Regions from separate parts of the Homo sapiens genome. Here regions 2, 3, 4, 5, 6 and 7 are each linked to region 1. The links are contacts of gene promoters, found by promoter capture Hi-C in blood cells and fetal thymus (Javierre and others, 2016). All regions are on one chromosome and are shown on one strand. Each heading gives the region's core, a stretch centred on a gene start or on the middle of the fragment in contact. The rest is flanking DNA. Distances are from core to core; before and after follow the strand shown. Region 1 holds the start of MYB (MYB proto-oncogene, transcription factor). Region 2 overlaps MTFR2 (mitochondrial fission regulator 2). Region 3 overlaps LOC124901408 (a long non-coding RNA gene). Region 4 overlaps BCLAF1 (BCL2 associated transcription factor 1). Region 5 has its middle 91 kb from the start of SLC2A12. Region 6 has its middle 110 kb from the start of SLC2A12. Region 7 overlaps BCLAF1 (BCL2 associated transcription factor 1).

Evidence for each region. The method cuts DNA at HindIII sites, captures the fragments that hold promoters and counts their contacts. A CHiCAGO score of 5 or more calls a contact.
Region 2: a fragment that was not itself captured here is called in contact with the fragment with the promoter of MYB in region 1 in 1 of 17 cell types (fetal thymus); the score reaches 5.6 in fetal thymus.
Region 3: a fragment that was not itself captured here is called in contact with the fragment with the promoter of MYB in region 1 in 1 of 17 cell types (fetal thymus); the score reaches 6.1 in fetal thymus.
Region 4: a fragment that was not itself captured here is called in contact with the fragment with the promoter of MYB in region 1 in 2 of 17 cell types (fetal thymus and monocytes); the score reaches 15.5 in fetal thymus.
Region 5: a contact is called between a fragment that was not itself captured here and the fragment with the promoter of MYB in region 1, in 1 of 17 cell types (total CD8 T cells). The highest score is 5.5, in total CD8 T cells.
Region 6: a contact is called between a fragment that was not itself captured here and the fragment with the promoter of MYB in region 1, in 1 of 17 cell types (fetal thymus). The highest score is 5.5, in fetal thymus.
Region 7: a fragment that was not itself captured here is called in contact with the fragment with the promoter of MYB in region 1 in 1 of 17 cell types (fetal thymus); the score reaches 7.3 in fetal thymus.

The regions. Positions count from the first base shown.
Region 1 is chr6:135,179,923-135,182,622 of GRCh38, forward strand. MYB (MYB proto-oncogene, transcription factor) reads left to right here and starts at 1,386. Exons shown (of 16, transcript NM_001130173.2): 1 at 1,386-1,614. The coding sequence starts at 1,592. RefSeq lists silencers at 505-614, 1,055-1,104, 1,175-1,394, 1,455-1,504, 2,554-2,633. The HindIII fragment of the contact is 5,797 bases long and covers 1-2,700 here.
Region 2 is chr6:136,245,300-136,247,999 of GRCh38, forward strand. The region is part of intron 2 of MTFR2 (mitochondrial fission regulator 2); the gene reads right to left. Among named protein-coding and RNA genes, the nearest start is that of MTFR2, 3.7 kb to the right of the region's middle. The HindIII fragment of the contact is 5,491 bases long and covers 1-2,700 here.
Region 3 is chr6:136,298,019-136,300,718 of GRCh38, forward strand. The region is part of intron 2 of LOC124901408 (a long non-coding RNA gene); the gene reads left to right. Among named protein-coding and RNA genes, the nearest start is that of BCLAF1, 9.5 kb to the left of the region's middle. The HindIII fragment of the contact is 594 bases long and covers 1,126-1,719 here.
Region 4 is chr6:136,280,211-136,282,921 of GRCh38, forward strand. It overlaps BCLAF1 (BCL2 associated transcription factor 1), which reads right to left. Exons shown (of 13, transcript NM_014739.3): 2 at 2,374-2,477. Among named protein-coding and RNA genes, the nearest start is that of BCLAF1, 8.3 kb to the right of the region's middle. The HindIII fragment of the contact is 1,644 bases long and covers 621-2,264 here.
Region 5 is chr6:134,142,091-134,144,901 of GRCh38, forward strand. No RefSeq gene overlaps it. Among named protein-coding and RNA genes, the nearest start is that of SLC2A12, 91 kb to the left of the region's middle. The HindIII fragment of the contact is 1,564 bases long and covers 742-2,305 here.
Region 6 is chr6:134,164,434-134,167,133 of GRCh38, forward strand. No RefSeq gene overlaps it. Among named protein-coding and RNA genes, the nearest start is that of SLC2A12, 110 kb to the left of the region's middle. The HindIII fragment of the contact is 2,604 bases long and covers 124-2,700 here.
Region 7 is chr6:136,262,637-136,265,449 of GRCh38, forward strand. All of the region lies in intron 11 of BCLAF1 (BCL2 associated transcription factor 1), which reads right to left. Among named protein-coding and RNA genes, the nearest start is that of MTFR2, 14 kb to the left of the region's middle. The HindIII fragment of the contact is 311 bases long and covers 1,261-1,571 here.

The DNA.
Region 1 (2,700 bases), core at 136-2,635:
TTCACCGTTTAATAAAATTATGACTCATTTTAGTAAGAACATGCTTTTTTAGTAAGAAAAAATGCTTTCTGAGCTAAGTTTGAACTGCTGGGGCACATGGGACACCCACAAACCCAGTCAGCAGAAGTCTCAAACTCCTAAAAGATTAAAGGAAAAATACATTAGTGTGTACAGAGAATGAAAAAAAAATCCCCAATGGTTCTAATCTATAAACGGAAGTAAAACTAAAACTCCCCTAAAATCCCCCCAGTCATCAATCCTTATAAATTCAGCACTTATCTTCTTCCTTTACTTCTGGAGACCCTCATTAAACAACACGAAAGCCTTTGCTGACTTTTATCTCGTAAAATAGAGCCCTCAAATGACACTAAGCAGGGATACCGACCTCCAAAATCACAAACTGTTTTACTTCTAAAACCATGCATGCAAACGTGGGGTTTCCTGAGTTCTGCTAGGGGCGGGCTGTCTGGACCCCCGTGTATTTTTTTTTTTTTTTTTTTTTTTTTTTTTTTTTTGCAGGTGTGCAATCCAGGGTGCGCGCTCTGTGCAGGGAGGGGAGCAAAGGTGTGCGGTGGGCACCGCCTGGGCCGGGCGGGGCGGGGTGGGTGGGGCCCGGGTGTGTGCTGGGGTGAGAGTGAAGGACATGTGACAATACGACGGTGGCGGCTGCAGGATCCGGGAGGGGAGTGAAAGCTCCGCTGGGGCGCTCCATTAGTGAGCGGTGATGGTTGCCGCCCACTTGTATTGAAGCGTCCTTTGTCACTAACAAGTTAAATTAGAGATGTTATTTATTTAAGAAGAAGGAAAAAAAACCCTAGCCAAACAGCCTATGAATACATATGCTCACATCCCCTACTCCTCCAACTCCTAATTTCCCCGTCTCCAGAGGGCACAGTTGTAAACCTTGACGAAAATCCAATCTTCTGTGCGGGAATTTCCCCCCACCGCTTGCCGCCCCCGCGACAGTGAGTGGGAGCTGGAGGAGCTCTGGTCCCGCTGCCCGGGAGCACGCGGAGCCGGGCGACCGCGGTGCGGCAGCCAGGGAGGAGGGGAGGCGGCGGGACTGGGCGCGGGTCGGCGCCGCCGCGACCCGGGAGCGGGGTTTGCTCAGGAAAAGGCGCCGTCGCGGCCCCCGGCCACCCCTCCCTGGCCCCGGGCTCCCTGCCCGCGCGCCTCCCGGGCCTCGCGGCGCGCTAGGCGCACCGCGGCGGCGCGAGCGCCGAATGGGAGCGGCGACCCGGCCAGCCCGGCAGCCCCGCGGGCGGCAGCCAGGGCGACCGCGGAGGCGGCGGGCAGGGCGCGTGCGCACTGCAGGGGCGCCAGATTTGGCGGGAGGGGGAGTGTCCAAAGCTCTTTGTTTGATGGCATCTCTGTTTACAGAGTTTACACTTTAATATCAACCTGTTTCCTCCTCCTCCTTCTCCTCCTCCTCCGTGACCTCCTCCTCCTCTTTCTCCTGAGAAACTTCGCCCCAGCGGTGCGGAGCGCCGCTGCGCAGCCGGGGAGGGACGCAGGCAGGCGGCGGGCAGCGGGAGGCGGCAGCCCGGTGCGGTCCCCGCGGCTCTCGGCGGAGCCCCGCGCCCGCCGCGCCATGGCCCGAAGACCCCGGCACAGGTAACGGGGAGCCGGGCGGGCGGCCGAGGGCGGGGGCGCGCGGGGGCGCGCGGGGCGCCAGGCTCCCGGGAGCAGGTGGGAATTCGTTCCGGGATCATCTGAGGGGCTGTCAGACCCTCCGAGGACCTGGAGCCCCTGCCTCGGCAGCAGAAGCCGCTCCAGAGACTGATGAATGGAAGAGTCTTTGCGGGAAATGTATCCGGACGTTGGGAAGCACGCCCTGCGGCTCATTTTGCAAGTTGCATGGGGATACATTTTTCTTTAGGGGGAAAAAGAAAGCACGTTCCAGCCGAGGGCAGAGCGGTGCCCACCAGCCCCGGGGAGCCCACCAGGTGCCTGGCTTGATGCCGCGGGTGTCGGCGAGGGATCCGCAGCGTAATTGCTGGATGCATTGAGATATGTTTGGACTTGGAAGTGCAGAGCATATGGCAGATACAGGGAAAATGCTGGATTGTTTAGTAGCTGCAGGTAGTTCATTTAAATTTCATTCATTCTTTATGGAGGCGAGGACCAGTGTCAGCTGACAGGCGGCTGAAAAGCAGATTTTAGGGGGATAAAGGGGTCTCTACTTTTGCAAATTGTCTTAAGACCTGGTTTTGGAGGTTCGAATCATTTTTCTCTGAAAGGCTTTTACTTCCACTGCAAACATTGCACGCGCACCCACACGCGCCGCCGTCGCACATGTCACTGCACTTAGGGAGGCTCGCCGGGAAGATGGGTGCAGTCCCTTCACATTTTTGGCCGGACAGATGGGAAGAGGGAGAGGAGGAGGAGGAGGGAAATCCTCGTCCGAACTGTCAGTTGCTCGTTCCCCAGTCTCCACCGGCCTCTGGACTTTCCCAGCAGCACACGCCGGGGCTCCCTGCGAGCGGCGGGTGCCAGGGCTAGCTCGGCAGCCGTCGCAGTCGCCACTCGGCTCAAGGGGACAGAGGCCGGCAGCACCCAAGGCCGCTGCCGCGCAACCGGGACGCGATCCCCGCGGGCTCTGCCCCCAGGCGAAAGGTCCCTGCGCGGCGCGCACACGTGGATGCGGCTGAGGTCGCCGCGCCTTCTCGCACCCTCCTTCAGCCGCCTTAGGTCGCCCCG
Region 2 (2,700 bases), core at 183-2,682, 1.1 Mb after region 1:
AATTTCCTTTAAAGGAGAAATAAAAAAGGGAATAAATAAATCAGGTCCTAGACAATTCAGAGTTATTTACATAAAGTGAAATATATCTGCTGGCAGTCAGCTCTTGAAAAGGCATTAGAAGTAATAATGTGCTACTATAGCTCAAATAATACTTCATCCTTTAGTGTGGGCTTCCCAAATTAGTGTAAACCATTGCCACAGGAACCACTCTCCCCCACCAGCCAAAAGATGTGATATAATAAATTGGACATTTTTCCTAAGATCCCAACTGATATAGGTAGCCACCTATTAGCATCCTCATTAAAACAACCAATAAACCGCCGGTCTCAGCTGTTAAACAACAGCAACAACTAACAACAGCAGGCTAAATAAACTGTGGGTTGTGCACCTGCGTTTTGATTGTGACCCATCATGTGAGGTCAGGTGTAAAATTTTCCCATTGTGGTGTCATGCTGGCACTCAAGACATTTGGGATTTTGGAGCATTTCAGATTTCAGGTTTTGAGTGATGCTCAACCGATAATATTTTTAAATTGCTAAGATTATTTTACATTTTTTTCACACTCAGTCTTCAAAATCCCTTATATAGGTTACACCTATAGAAGATCTCAATTCAGATATTTTGAGTACTTAAAAGTGACATGTGGCCAGTGGCTATCATACTGGATTGCACAGCCTAGAGGATATAGATCCCAGACCTATTACTAGTAGAATATTTGGAGGATTGAGCATTTATATTTAAAGTGTTCTACAGACCATTCATCTGCGTACCCCTGCTAAGAACAACAGGCATAGAGGCTTTGCTACCATGACGGCTACCTATGACATATACAGTCACCCAAGAGTTGGGTTAGTTCTTAGTTAATTTAAATGATACCTTCCTATCTTGCTCGGCAGTTTCCATCCTAATAAACTCTTGTCCTTCCTCTCATTCCTTCATTGCCCCTGGCCATCTTCACCATTTTCGTTGTTGTTGTTGTTTGCTTTTTGAGGTTTTTTTTTTGAGATGGGGTCTCACTCTGTCACCCAGGCTGGAGTGCAGGGCATGATCAGGGTTCACTGCAACCTCCACCTCCCAGGCTCAAGCAATCCTCCTACCTCAGCCTCTGGAGTAGCTGGGACCACAGGTGCACACAACCATGCCTGGTTAATTTTTATATTTTTTATAGAGACGAGGTTTCATCATGTTGCCCAAGCTGGTCTTGAAAACCTGAGCTCAAGTGATATGCCTGCCTCAGCCTCCCACAGTGTTGGGATTACAGGGGCGACCCACCACATCTGGCCATCTTCACCATTCTTATTATTTCATCTTCCCTCTATTCCTGGTCTAGTACCCACATTTTGACTTTACTAATTTTCCTACCAAGCATGGATTTTCTGGTTAATTATTTCAGTAATATGTTCAATGCCACTCAAAAATGGTTCATTCTTTTGATATTATGTGCTCCCACACTGCTAATGAATACACTACTGTAATTACTCTTAGCTAGGAAAAAAAAATCACAAAACGACAATATTTAGAAAAACTACAATTCCATGATGACTTCAGCTGGGTTCTCACAGGTATTCTGAAATCCCTTCATAACATGTTACATTCTATACCACATTGCCCAGAGCAGTCTCCAATCTCTGAAATCCCTTCTCAAATCCCACCACTTCATTACCTGCAAGTGACCTTGTCTCTGCTCTTACTGAGAAAACCGAGAACTTCAACTTGACATACCTCAACTTCACTTCTCTTACTTAGCTCCATTCAAAATCTCTTTTCAGGCCAGGCGCAGGGGCTCACGCCTGTAATCCCAGCACTTCGGAAGGCCAAGGCAGGTGGATCACTTGAGGTTAGGAATTCAAGACCAGCCTGGCCAACGTGGTAAAACCCCATCTCTACTAAAAATATAAAAATCAGTTGGGCATTGGTGGCAGGCTCCTGTAATCCCAGCTACGCGGGAGGCTGGGGCAGGAGAATCACTTGAACCTCGGAGCAGAGGTTGCAGTGAGCCAAGATTGCACCACTGCACTCCAGCCTGGGCAACAGAGCAAGACTCCATCTTAAAAAAAAAAAAAATCTCTTTTCACTCTCTCTCACTTTCATTCTGTTCTTTAAGGCAGGACAGTCTCTCTCCTTTCCAAGACTTATTTAATTAGATCCCTTGCCCAACTACCTTCTCAAAGGCGGTGCTCAATCCTCTCTCATGTGGATCTTAAATTTCTTCCTGTCTGTTTCTTCCAGAGTGATGACAAATATGCTGAAGTTACTTCTAACTTTAAAAGAAAAAGAAAAATTCCATCCTGCGGCCCCTTCAGGCTGATGGCCTCTCTCAATTTCTTTTCACAAGCAAACTTTTCAAAAGAAGGTTGCTGATCCCACCTCCCTTCCTGATATTCTTCAAACTACTCCAACACAGTCCCATTCTCCACTTACAGAAATTCTTAAGGTCACCAATAACCTAATAGTGATAAACAAATGTTCAGCTGTTATCTTCAGTCTCTCGATTACTGATATTTAGAATGTTTCAATCACATCTAATGACATTTGCCATTATCGAAGTCCATGGCTTTAAATATCAAAACAAAGCAGATAACTCCCAAAACTGAATCTTTTTCTTTCCTACATACTAAAACCATATATATATCCAATTGTCTGAAGGATATTTCTACTTATATGTTCTAACATCACCTCTGACTCACCTCATCTCCATAT
Region 3 (2,700 bases), core at 173-2,672, 1.1 Mb after region 1:
AAATTACTTTCATAATATTAATATCAAAAAACTTTTAAAAATGTAGACCATTGAATTTTATTTGAATTGTGTAAGATAATGAAGACCTAAAAACTGAGAGGTCTTGTTTTTGTTTTTTGAGACAGAGTCTCGCTCTGTTGCCCAGGCTGGAGTGCAGTGGCACGATCTCAGCTCACTGCAACCTCCACCTCCCAGGTTCAAGCAATTCTCCTGCCTCTGCCCCCCAAGTAGCTGGAATTACAGGCATGCACCACCACGCCTGGCAAATTTTTGTATTTTTAGTAGAGACGGGGTTTCACCATGTTGGCCGGGCTGTTCTCAAATTCCTGACCTCAGGTGATTTGCCAACCTCGGCCTCCCAAAGTGCTGGGATTACAAGCGTGAGCCACCTCGCCCAGCAAGTTTGTGTGTGTGTGTGTGTGTGTGTGTGTGTGTGTGTGGTTCTTCCAAATCAAGCGTAAAAGCTCTCATTTAATAAACAAGAAGAATAAGGATGGGTATGGTGTCTCATGCCTGTAATCCCATCACTTTAGGAAGCCGAAGAGGGAGGATTACTTACACCCAGAATTTGAACTGTGTGAGCCACTGTACTCCAACCTGGGTGACAGAGAGAGAACCTACCTCTAAAAAATACAAACATACATATATACATAATAAAATATCCATTACTAAATCACAATCTTGATAAGCCTAATTATAAACTGCTGCTAGGAGAATATTTGCTTCCAGAGAGAATCTTTTAGATTTGTTTTTGTGGGATTTTGGGGTTTTTTTTTCCTAGAGTGCTCTATAGTCCTCTTTTAGCTTCATGAATCTTCTGTCGAGCAATGAAGGGGAGTACTTGGTTCAACAAGAGAAAAACATATATAAAATTGTTTGCTTCCATTTAAAAGGAAACTTTACACTGAATTCCAACCAACTGTGATAGATAGATCTAAAAATGGCTTAATCCTTTGCAAGACAGTTATTTTTCAAAGTTCTATTTGTCATATTAGGGTCTGGCTAATTATGTTAAAAGCACCACTGGCTGATTTCTTAAGTTCCATTTTAGAGAGTATAGTGAAAGCACAGACCTGACTTTGTGTTTCTAGTATTTGTGCCATTATTTTTTAATCTACATTATTAAGCTTAACTTTGTACTGTAATGAGGTTAATTTCTACCCACACAAGCCCATCCAGTAGCTTTTCCTAAACACATTCATTCTTTGTTATATATTCCAGGGAGATATTTCTGTCAATGGCATGTGAGATGATCTATTCACTCCATGATGAGATGCTTACTGTTTGAAAACAAATTCATTCACATGCTTAAAAATTGCTCAGGAGCAGGAACTATACAAATATTTATTGTTATTGGCCATTTATAATTTATTCATAGTGATCCAGCTGACAACCATCTGGTGCATAAAACTGAAAATTGGAAGAAAAAAAGAGTAAAAGTCCCTGGAAAAATATAATTTAGTCTCCATATGTCTTTGATACATATTCAATACAATTTATTACTTGCTAGTGGTATGAGATGCTCTATAATAATAGATACATATATGAAATTTAACACAAAGGGAAATTGACATTTTACTCAAAAATGTATGTTGAAGGACAAAGTGAAGACAGTAGTAATAATACAGTAATTAGCAAATGTACATTGGCAAAGATAGTATAAACTAGGCTGTGGTAACAAATAGACTCCGGAATACATAATGACTTACATGCAATAGAAGCTTTTTCTCAAACAGTCCAAGACAGTTGAATTAGGTTGGTAAGTATTTTCTCCATGCAGTGATTCAGGGCCCTAAGCCATCTTGTGACTCCATGGATAGAACTCAGGGGTCTACCAATTCCCAAAGAATCCGTGGATAGAATTCAGACCTGTCACTATAATTTGTTGTTGTTGTTGTTGTTGTTTTTAATTCAATAGTTTTTTGGGTACCGGTGGTTTTTGGTTACATGGATGAATTCTTCAATGGTGAATTCTGAGATTTTAGTGCACCCATCACCCAAGCAGTGTACACTGTACCCAGTATGTAGTCTTGTATCCCTCACACCTCTCCCAACCTCCCAGAGATGTCGCTATATTTGTATGGGAAAAATTACATCCCTGTTGGGGCCGGGCGTGGTGGCTCACGCCTGCAATCCCCGCACTTTGGCAGGACAAGGCGGGCGGATTACCTGAGGTCAGGAATTTGAGACCAGCCTGGTCAACATGGTGAAACTCCATCTCTACTAAAAATATTTAAAAAATAGCCAGAAATGGTGGCAGGCACCTGTAATCCCAACTACTCGGGAGGCTGAGGCAGGAGAATCACTTGAACCCAGGAGGCAGAGGTTGCAGTGAGCCGAGATCGTGCCACTGCACGCCAGCCTGGGCAACAGAAAGAGACTCTGTCTCAAAAAAAAAAAAATAAATAAAAATTACATCCTTGTTAACTTCAAACTGAAATTTATCATTTCCCTTAATTATGAATGTAGGCAAAACCACAGAAGTATTACCAGTACTTATGACTTTGTAATAAATAAAAATCACCGATTTTTAAAAAATCATTACTGTTAGGCCAGGCATGGTGGCTCATGCCTGTAATCCCAGCACTTTGGGAGGCCAAGGCGGGCAGATCACAAGGTGAGGAGTTGGAAACCAGCCTGGCCAATATGGTGAAATCCTGTCTCTACTAAAAATACAAAAATTAGCCAGATGTGGTGGCG
Region 4 (2,711 bases), core at 193-2,692, 1.1 Mb after region 1:
CAAATGCCTACCCCTCCTGTAAGAAAGATAAATAATAAAGGTACTACAGATAAGGCAACTGAAATAAAATAAAGTGTCACAATACTAACAAAAAATAAACCTACCAGGCTGTTATCATAGTGCTTTATGGCCTTGAAAATGAGACTGAACTGACCACTCCATATACACAATCCTGTCTGGAGTGGTACTAGATAGTATCCTAGAACAATACAGGACACTAAGTTTCTAAACAGCTGGAGCCATGGCTCTGCTCTCAGTACTCATGACTCCAGAATAAAGTGGACTTATGTGACAATGCCTAGTTCACCCTGAAGCTTTCTGTTAAGAAGATTTAAAAAGAATAAAAGATAAAGAATTGGAGGGATTACTTCAAGAAAGATTTATTAGAACTACAAGAAAAAAAAAACTTGGGCACCAGTAGTTTAACTTTTCTAAACACTACATGGTATCCAATGCTATAATTAGACCTCATTGGGTACAGAAATCAGTAACTGTCAAAACTAATTGATTTATAAGATCTACTAATTGAAAAAACATACACATATAGCAAATCACTGCATGCATATCCCAAATGTCACATTTTCAACTTTTCAATGATTAGATTATATCTTAGCCTCTCAAGCTTGTTTTTGCTGCATAGAACTATTTCCAAATTTACACTAACTTACTCAAAAAGTATTCATTTCAATAAAAATCAACTTACTAAACTTCTAACACCTTGCAATTCCCATAATACTTAAATAGTATCTCCTACAACCAAGTATTTTTGAAGGCACTTTTTTACCTACCTAGACTTTGTTCGGTATAATAAAATAGTATTTGGAGGTACTAAGATGAGTTCAGTTATAGAAGAAGTAATGGTAATACTTGGATAGTTCCTCATCAAGCAATATAAATAACAAATTCAAGATGTTTGAGATAAATGCTTATTTCAAAATAAAACATAACTATCCTCTAATAGACTACCACCTTTGTCTTCTCTCACTCTTCTTCTCAATCCCAAGTAAGCAAGAAATACATAAAGACAGAAACAAAACATAGGTTCAGGGTTCAAAAAGGCAAAGTAAGAATTCCACAACACATAAGAAATAAATTTAGCATTAACATAAGGAGATCTGACACCTTGTAGAACACAAATTTGGTTTAGCAACTGTAGTTTTGACAACATAATGAAATTGGCAAAAACCACATTTACAGCCTGTAAAGGAAGGAATCTTGGCCACGGGGAACTGTGACATTCTCTTGCATCTGATTTCAAAATTCTGTCCCTCCCAAAGTTTTTAAAAGAATATAAATACGTAATTTACATTCATTCTGATCGAATTTACTTCAAGATATTTATTTTTATCCCACTCTGAGATAATCAGACACACTATAAAAAGAAACCAGAGCTGCAAATGATTTTGGAGATCCAGTCCAGCAATAAGACAACATCCTTTTTCATTGTACTAATCAGTAAATAAAACACTATTTTACTAAGAGCTACAGATGCTGTGTTGTGCTGTATCTCCAGAATCTCTGTTCTTTGCTCTTGAGGCTTTTTGGATGGTAATTTCTGTTAAAGGATTCAGGAATTCTGTAGGCTTTTTCAGTCACCAGGATGTAGCTGGGCTTGTGGCACACGAGCACAACAGGTATTTAATAAATAACTATAAAATGAATGCATTCCCCAGAACCTGGACATTTTTTAAAGCAGCAAGTTCATTTTTAAAGGTTTGCGTTTTGCTTTAAGCTACACCTGAAACTTCAAAAACTAACGGAAAGAAAGCATGCCTATCAAATAGTTAGCAGTCCAAAAGAAATGGATTGATATCTTCTGCTCTACTGCAAAAACAGGGAAAAAGCTAAGAACATGGTCTCTGCATTTAAACTACATGAATTCAAATTCCTTAAGCTCTCTGAGCCTGTTCCTCAACTGTAAAACGAAGAAAATAACAGTACCTACTTCACAGACTTGTAGTGGACTTAATGAGTTGATGAACTTAATTCACTTAATACATCTAACACATTAGCAATCAATTTGAATTACCTAAACACTACAGTAGAGAGAAACAAGTTATGAATCTCCTCTTGTTTACATTAGGGAAATGGGTTAAGTAGCAGTCTTTCTATCTTGTATGTCCTGAGTCTTTTAGTAGATGTGTTTATAGAAATAGAAAAAGCAGGAGCACAACCTGGAAGAAGACAGAAAAAGAACCTTTTTCCTAAAACTAACTTAACATCTGACTTACTTCATACAAGCCACCAAAATAAACAAAAAACAAAGCTTCGGACCACATCATTTTTAATCACTCCATCTGAATCATCAATTCAGTAGTGACATTTCCTCAAAAAAGTCAAAAGTGAAAACTAGAAAAATGAATGCTCTTTTACCTTGGTTTTATGCAGGATCAAGAAGTCAAGTGAAGTCTTTGAGATACTGTAAAAATTCTTCCTGGAGAGAATGCTCTGAGAAATTAAACTCTAAATTCGAATTCCTAGCAAAGACAAAAAAACCATTATTGTGATTTATGTTAAATTAAATAACCATTATTTACAATGCATATAATGGGCACTGCCATAAACTCTAATAAACGCACTTACAATTTCAGGGAAGGAAAAACTAATTCAGGAAATAGGAAACTTTTAACCGTAAAAGCTTAAAATTCAACTTTTTTGTAAACCACAATGCAGTAGCGTATCATGAAACTGACAGCATCTTTTTAACTACT
Region 5 (2,811 bases), core at 274-2,773, 1.0 Mb before region 1:
TGTTCCAGATTGAAGGATACTCAAGACACCAACAACTAAATGCAAGACATGATTCTGAACCAGATCCTTTTGCTGTAAAAGACGTTGGGACAGGGGCCAGGTGCGGTGGCTCACACCTGTAATCCCAGCACTTTGGGAGGCTGAGGTGGGTGGATCACAAGGTCAAGAGATCGAGAGACCATCCTAGCCAACATGGTGAAACCCAGTCTCTACTAAAAATACAAAAATTAGCTGGGCGTGGTGGTGCGTGCTTGTAGTCCCAGCTACTCAGGAGGCTGAAGCAGGAGAATCACTTGAACCCGGGAGGCAGAGGTTGCAGTGAGCCGAGATTGCGCCACTGCACTCAAGCCTGGTGACAGAGTGAGACACCGTCTCAAAAAAAAAAAAAAAGACATAGGGACAAATGGCAAAACTTGCTTGAGGTCTTAAGATTAGATGATAGTAATGTATTGGCATTAATTTTCTGATTTTGATGTTCTATCATGGTTATGAAGGAGAATTGGTTTGTTTGTAGGAAATGTACACTAAAGTATTTGGTGGAGATGGGCCAACATGCCAGTCACTCGCTCTCAAGTAATTCCGAAAAAAAATTTTTGGTACTGACTTGCAACTTTCCTTTAAGTTTGAGATTGTTTCAAAAATGTTAAATAAAATAAATCAGAATGGTGCACACAACAGCCATACAAAGAAGATTCTTCTCTCTTTCAGTTTTCCAAGGACTGCCCAGAGGATAAGCAGAAAAGCTTGATTAAAAATGGGTTTGAGCAGATATTATAGATTAAGTACCTGGTTTTAAAGACTGGGGATCAAGCTCTCTAGTGAGAAAAGACTTGCTCAGAGCCCAACTGGCCTTGGGTTCCCTTCTCTGAAAAGTTTTTGAAGTTTTCATATTTTTACCTCATTCTATTTCACATGGGTGACAATAGAACAATTTGTCTTCTTTTGCCAAGCTATATGAATTGTTCTGCTAAGGCCAGGCTATGATCAATCATTAGTATGAAAACAACTTTTCAAACTAAAAATTTTAAAAACGCACATACAATTTTGTAAGATTGATTAGCCCCCAAGTAAGTAGATTTCCCCTTGTAAGTAGCAAATATGAATCAGTTAGAAGAGAATGAGGACTATAGGCAGTAGTGTTGTGGATAAGAAAGAGCCGAGTCTTAGAATTGCTTGGGGCCTAAATACTGGCTCTGCCAGTTGCTAGTTATGTGACCCGGAGTGAGGTACTCACCCTCACTGTGTCTCAGTATTCTCATCTGTAAAATGGTCTAAGATAAAATACTCTCCTGATAGAGTTTGTGAATGTAAAGCACTTAGAATCACAAGTAGGTAGTATTTCCTCAGTAACTATTAACTACCATTATTATTACTATTAACATTTTGAATATTCATACCTTACGACTTAGCAGTTCCCTCTCTAACCTTCACCTCAGAGAAACAGAGGAACACCCGTGTACAACGATGTCCTTTGCAGCAATGTTTATAATAGAGAAAAATGTAACAGCTTAAATGTCTATAAATCAGTGTTTAGCTAAAACACAGTGACATATTTCTTACTGCTATGGTTTGAATGGGTCCCTATGGTTGAATGGGTCCCTCAAATTTCAAGTATTGAAAACTTGATTCCAATATTCATATGTTGGTTAGAGGTAGGGCCTTTAGGAGGTAATCAGGATTAGATTAGTTAAGGTCATCAGAGTGGGGGTCCCATGATGGGACTGATGGCTTTATGAAAAGAGGAAGAGGGGCCAGGCGTGGTGGCTCATGCCTATAATCCCAGCACTCTGGGAGGCTGAGGCTGGTGGATCACCTGAGGTCAGGAATTTGAGACCAGTCTGGCCAATGTGGCGAAACCCCGTCTCTACTAAAATACAAAAATTAGTCAGGTGTGGTGGCATGCACCCGTAATCCCAGCTACTTGGGAGACTGAGGCAGGAGAATCGCTTGACTGAGGCAGGAGAATCGGGAGGTGGAGGTTGCAGTGAGCTGAGATTGCACCATTGTACTCCAGCCTGGGCGACAGAGCGAGACTCCGTCTCAAAAAAAAAAAAAAAAAAAAAAAAGAAAAGAAGAAGAGGGAGCTGAGCTGACACACATGTTCTGTCTTACTGTGCAATGCCTCCCATCATGTTATAATATAACCAGAAAGCCGTTAGCATACTCTTGGACTTTCCAGCTGCTAGAACTATAAGATATATATCAATTTTCTTTGTAAATTACCCCGTCTGTGGTATTCTGTTATAGCAGTGCAAAACAAACTAAGACACCTATGTGATTGTCTATACTGAAATTGTAAAAAGTAAGCTTCATGTCACATTGTGAAGTAAAAAGCAAATTGGTATACATGCTATAATAATATTTATGTGGAAAATTTACATGAAATAATACTATGTATTTTTTGACTCTACATAAATAGATGCAGTGCTTAGAAAAATATCTGAAAGCATAAACAAAAAATTACACTTTTTTTGTTTTTGTTTTTCCTTTTTGTGGAGAATCAGGTCTCCTTATATTGTCCAGGCAGCTCTTAAACTCCTGGACTCAAGCAGTCCTCCTGCCTCTGCCTCCCTAAATGCTGGGATTACAAGCATGAGCCACTGCAACCAACATTAACAAAAAATTGATAACCATTTGTTACTTTGAGGGAAAAGAAACTAGATTAGAGATATGATCAAAGGGAATTTAGCTTTACTTGTGATCCTAATTTTCTATAAGAAAAATATGTTTGCATGTTATCTATATGATTAAAGACTGGTAGTGAAAAATCACATTAAAGTATTTTTATGCTATAGATATAAATTTTCTAGG
Region 6 (2,700 bases), core at 176-2,675, 1.0 Mb before region 1:
CCATCGTAACTCACTAAGTCTCATTGACGTGGGAACGTGGAAACATCTCCTCTGTCCTTTACTCACCACCACCACTGGGATGACTGTCAGAAGTCTCCTAAGGGGCTTTTATATTAATTTCAAAGCTTTCTCGCTCTCACACCTCTTAGTGATAGCCAGTAAAACACTCTGAATCACTTCACTTTCCTCATGGAAAACCTTCAAATGCTTCCTTTGCTATCTGATGAAAGCTAAACGTCTCCCCCGTGGGATTATTAAGAACATGAAAGACATGGTCCATCTCCCTACTTAAAATTTTTTCAGCCGGGCACGGTAGTTCATGCCTGTAATCTCAGCACTTTGGGAGGCTGAGGCGGGTGGATCACCTGAGGTCAGGAGTTTGAGACCAGCCTGGCCAATATGGCGAAACCCTGCCTCTACTGAAAAATCCCGTCTCAAAGAAAAGAAAGAAAGCTGGTCAATAGAGCTGAGATTCTGCCCTAGGTCTGTCTGGTCCCTTTCTATTGCCACTGTCCCATTCATTATCCTTATGCAAGTCCGGCCCCCACTACAAGCCTGAATGTGGAATGGCCTTTCTGCCTCATTTTCAAGATCCAGTTCTCCAAGACAGCCTACCTGGATTCTCCAGATCTCCCTAAGCACCTTTTTCCTAAACTACCTAAAAATGTACTCCCATTTCCTGCCCCCCAAGTTGAGTAAGGTGTCACTCCTATGTACGCAAACACCTGTTTTCATCATACCACATATTTATAATGCACATTTTTGTTATATAACACATACAGAGAAAAATGCATGTATCATAAGTGTATAGCTTGATGAAATCAAGATCAAGCTCAAGATCAGATCAAGAAATTAACAGCACCTGGTAGGATGTCTTCCTTATGCACCCTCTCAACTATGAGCTCTGCCTTCCTCCCCAAAGGTGATCACATCTTAACTTCCAAATCAATTCATGCTGTTTGCCTGCTTTTACATTTTATATAAATCAAATCATACAGTCTGGGTTTTGTTTATGAGATCTATTCCTTGTTGTATATAGCAATTATTCACTCATTTTCATTGGGTAGTATTTCAGTATATGAAACCACACTAAATTCTTTATTCATTTTCCTATAGGTGGACATTTTGAATGGTTCCCATTTTGGGGCTGTCATAAATAGTATTACTGGGAACACTATTGCAAATTTTGTATTGCATATGTGTGCAGTCTTTGGGGTCTATACTGTGGAAGAGAACGATTGGGCCACAAGTTATAGATATCTTCATCTTTAGTAGATACTGCCAAGCAGTTTTCCAAAATGGTGCACCAAGTTATACTCCCACTGCAATGTATATTTTTGCAGCTGCTTCTTATCTTCATCAGTCACTGATAGTGTCTGTAATTACAAATTTTCCCTCTCTCTCCCTCTCCCTCTCCATCCCCCTCTTTTTGCCTAGCATGACATCTAGAAGGTATCTTTGTAAAAGTCTGGTGAATTAATAAATGGATGACTAACAAGTACACAGCTGTTTGCTTTTATACTCTTCTGTCACCTCTGAGGCCGGATAAAGTAATGGCTACAAGCATAGGCTTTTGGGCCAGATTGACATGATTTGACTTTCGATCTCACCACTTACTGACCAGCTAATGACCGTTCTGTACGAGTTTCTTCACTTTTGACATCACAGCATTGTTATGAAGAGTAAACAGCTTGACTACAGAATACTTAGAACAGCCAGGTATGGTGGCTCATGCCTGTAATCCTAGCACTTAGGGAGCTCAGGACCAGCCTGGGCATCATGGTGAAACCACGTCTCCGAAAAAGACTTATTAAGAAACAAAACGTTGTTTACTTGGTTGGCTGAGGTGGGAGGATCACCTGAGTCCAGGAGGTTGAGGCTGCAGTGAGCCATGATTGTACCACTTTTCTCCAGCCCAGACAATAGAGATCGTGTCTCAAAAACAAACAAACAAAAAAAACAAACTTAGAACATTGTCTGACACATAATAAGAGCTCAGTAGAATTAGCTATTACGATTATAATCCGGTCCTCAGGGCCTGTATCCTATTAGAGTTCCTAGAATTGGTTAGGAAGAATCTTAGAGCTTCCCGTCTATGAAGCCTGCTCTAGGCACCCGACCCCGCAGAGAGCCGCTGGACGTCTGAAGTTCCCTTTACCCCTTGTTCACTGCCTGTCACATGTTAAGGGTAGGTGCCTGTCTCCCCAGGTGGATGGCAAATTCTGTAAGGGCAGTGACTGACTTATTCTTTTTGGTAGCAGTGGTTTTAGACACATTTTAGCTTATGAGAATCTTAGCTGAATTGGTTCCCCCAAACCCATATTTGAGTAGACCTACAGCTGGAGAGCTATGGAGAAGACAATTATCCCTTTTCCAATCAATTGTCGTGCTCAAAGGCAGGCTGGCTGGGGCTCAGGGAATGTGCTGGCAGGGATATGCCCCACTCCCTTAGGTAAAAGATACCTCTGCACACACATTATTTGACAGTACAGTGCTTAGTAAATATTTGTCATTTGTTTATTGATCTCTTGTTCTTTCTTGACTTCCCTGTTCTTGCCTTGTTCTCTTCCCACCCACTTGTGCTTGATCTTATCTCCCATCTGGGTGACAATGTTTGGGTCTCCTCTGGCACCTTTCAATTCTGGAGAAACACAATTCAGATCTTCTATGTGAAGTGATGGACTATAATCCAGTAAACCA
Region 7 (2,813 bases), core at 166-2,665, 1.1 Mb after region 1:
ACATGACTCTATAATGAATGAATTTTGGAACTATCAAAAGTGTAAATTTAAATACGGCAGAGTTTATTACAAACCCAAAATAAACTACTTTAAAATAGTCTGCCACTAAAAATAATGCCCACTCCACTACATAATTTCATGCTCCCTTATCACATTAACATACCCAACTCCAGAGGCTGTGTTTTTTTATGATTTTTACACAATACACCATGGATTCTGGGAAGAGGTTTTGGAGTAGAAGCATGGGTTTAAATCTTATCAGAAACTGTGTGACTTTGGGCAACCTCTCTAGAATTCACTTCATTTTAATAATGTGTGCCTTGAGGGAACACAGATCAGCAGGAAGTGCCCGGCCCAGTGTCTGACAAGCAAGCACTCAATAAATGGTGGCAAAAATGATGTTTCTATAGTGTGTAATATGGATCTGGCCCTGTTCTGAACACTTCACATGTATTTATTCAACTAATCCTCACAACAACCCTCTAAGATAGTATTACTGCCCTCACTTTAGAAATAAACAAACTGAGGCACTGAGAAATTAAGTAACTTGCCCAAGGTCACAGAGCTAGCCCTTTCTTCTACCCCTTGTGACCATCACCCATAAAACACATTTCCCAGATATCTTGGTGGCAGTATATGATTACCACACCAGGTAGCTAAGAGTTAGCAGAAATAGAAAAGCCAAGAGCAAAGCTAGACACTAGGGTTAAACTAGCCATTGCTTTTAATATACAATCATCTGAAACTTGGTAAACACAACAGCACCTAAACAATTAAACTGTGCCTTTCGTAGGGCATCCTGGCAGCTACTTAATTGAGATTTTTGATGCTAAACATATTCTTAATACTCAAGTTTTATATCGAAGATTTCAGTCTCATTATTAAAATGTTTAATTTTTAATTATCTCAGATTTAAAAGGGCCAGAAGTTAGATATTTATACACAGCTAAGAACATGTTAACAAAGGAGTCTGTATTAGAAACCAAGACCTTCTGAATCATCTTCTCTTCTCCATACAAGGATCACGTTTCAAAGGAATAATAACCAAAACTCCAATCCTGAACCCCCTTCCCCACCAACGATTTTCTCTTCCTTTGAAGACAGCAACTCAACACTGAGAATCTGCCTACTTCAGTACTTTCCCACTTGCTCCAACTCTTCACACTCACCCCTCCATAGAATTTCAGGTTCTAACTAAAACTAGTATCTTTCCTGGAATTTTTATTATTGAAAACATTACCACACCTTTGCATAAAACAAAGCTTAGAGATAGGAAAATTCAAAAAGAATGCAACAAAGATTACTATAACTCAGTATTGGACAACAAATAGTACAAACAAGACTTTCAGAACCCTGACTCTGGAGCCCAATGCATAAATCCTGACCCCATTGCACTAGCCACATAACTCTGCTTAAGCTACTCCACCTTTGTACCTCAGTTTTTTCCATCCACAAAAATAGAATAATGGCCCCAACTCAAAAGCCTTTTTTAAGTATTCATACATACAGAACACTCAGAACAGCACCTAGCATAGTACATGATGCTTAACAAATGTTATCTATTATTACTAAGCTTTTTTGTTTGTTTGAGACAGATTCTCACTCTGTCACACAGGCTGGAGTATAATGGCGCAACCTTGGCTCACTGCAACCTCCACCACTTGGGTTCAAGCGATTCTCCTGCCTCAGCCTCCCGAGTAGTTGGGACTACAGGCACGCACCACCACGCTCAGCTAATTTTCGTTTTTTTTGTAGAGACAGGGTTTCAACATGTTGGCCAGGCTGTTCTTGAACTCCTGACCTCATGATCCACCTGTCTCAGCCTCCCAAAGTGCTGGGATTACAGGTGTGAGCCACCGTGCCTGGCCTGTTAGTTACTAAGTATTAATGTTTCATCCAAATGTGCAAACTCTTTTAAACTGGTTAATTGTTCTGAAAGAACCTAAGGGAATGAATGTCTAGTTCTAGACTTTTCTTCTGAATCATATTTTTCCTTCTTTTCCCTCAACATTCCTTTACATATAAGATACAAAATCTTTTAAATTTAACTATTCATGTGAAAACCAAAGTTGCCATTTCAATGGCTCATAAGTAAAAACCAAAATAATTAACTTTGGGAACTAATTTATAAGGAAAAAGTGTGTAATTTTGCTTGATATTCTAGTGAGCATCATCAGTCTGTGGCAAATCAATGTTTATGTTTTATAGAGACCAAGATTTTTAAATATAACCCAGAAAAGCAACATGTAAAAATATTACTGCTACTTATAAGTGGCTAAATTCTTAAAATAAGACAGTTCTTAATGAAACTACTGCCTAAGTAAACGCCAACCCAAAATGAGTATGTACTTGTTAAGGGTTAGCAGACTCAAGAGAATGCCATAGAAAAACGGCCTAAATTTAATATTTGTAAATTGTTAAAAGTGTTAAACAATTACTATCTATTTGTTCACCCCTCATTCCCTCTTAACCTTCTGACCTATCTATCATACCTGGTCTACTTCTCTGGCATTTTTACTCTCTCTCACTTTTCACCCCACCTTTGAAATGTTGGTCTTTATCTCGTCTCTTCTGTGATCTTAACACAGCTTTAATGGTGACCTATAAAATTAGAGCACTTAGATTTTTTTGTTTCTCTAAATCTGAATTACCAACTATCCACTGGACAGCTCCATTTCTCCCAGGCACTTCAAATTCAACCTGTTCAGAACAGAACTTAATCTTTTGAAAGGAGCTTCTTTCCTACAGATTTAGATTCCTTCCTCTCACTACCAACTCCCTGAATTCAAGTCCCCATAAATGTTACTTTCTCA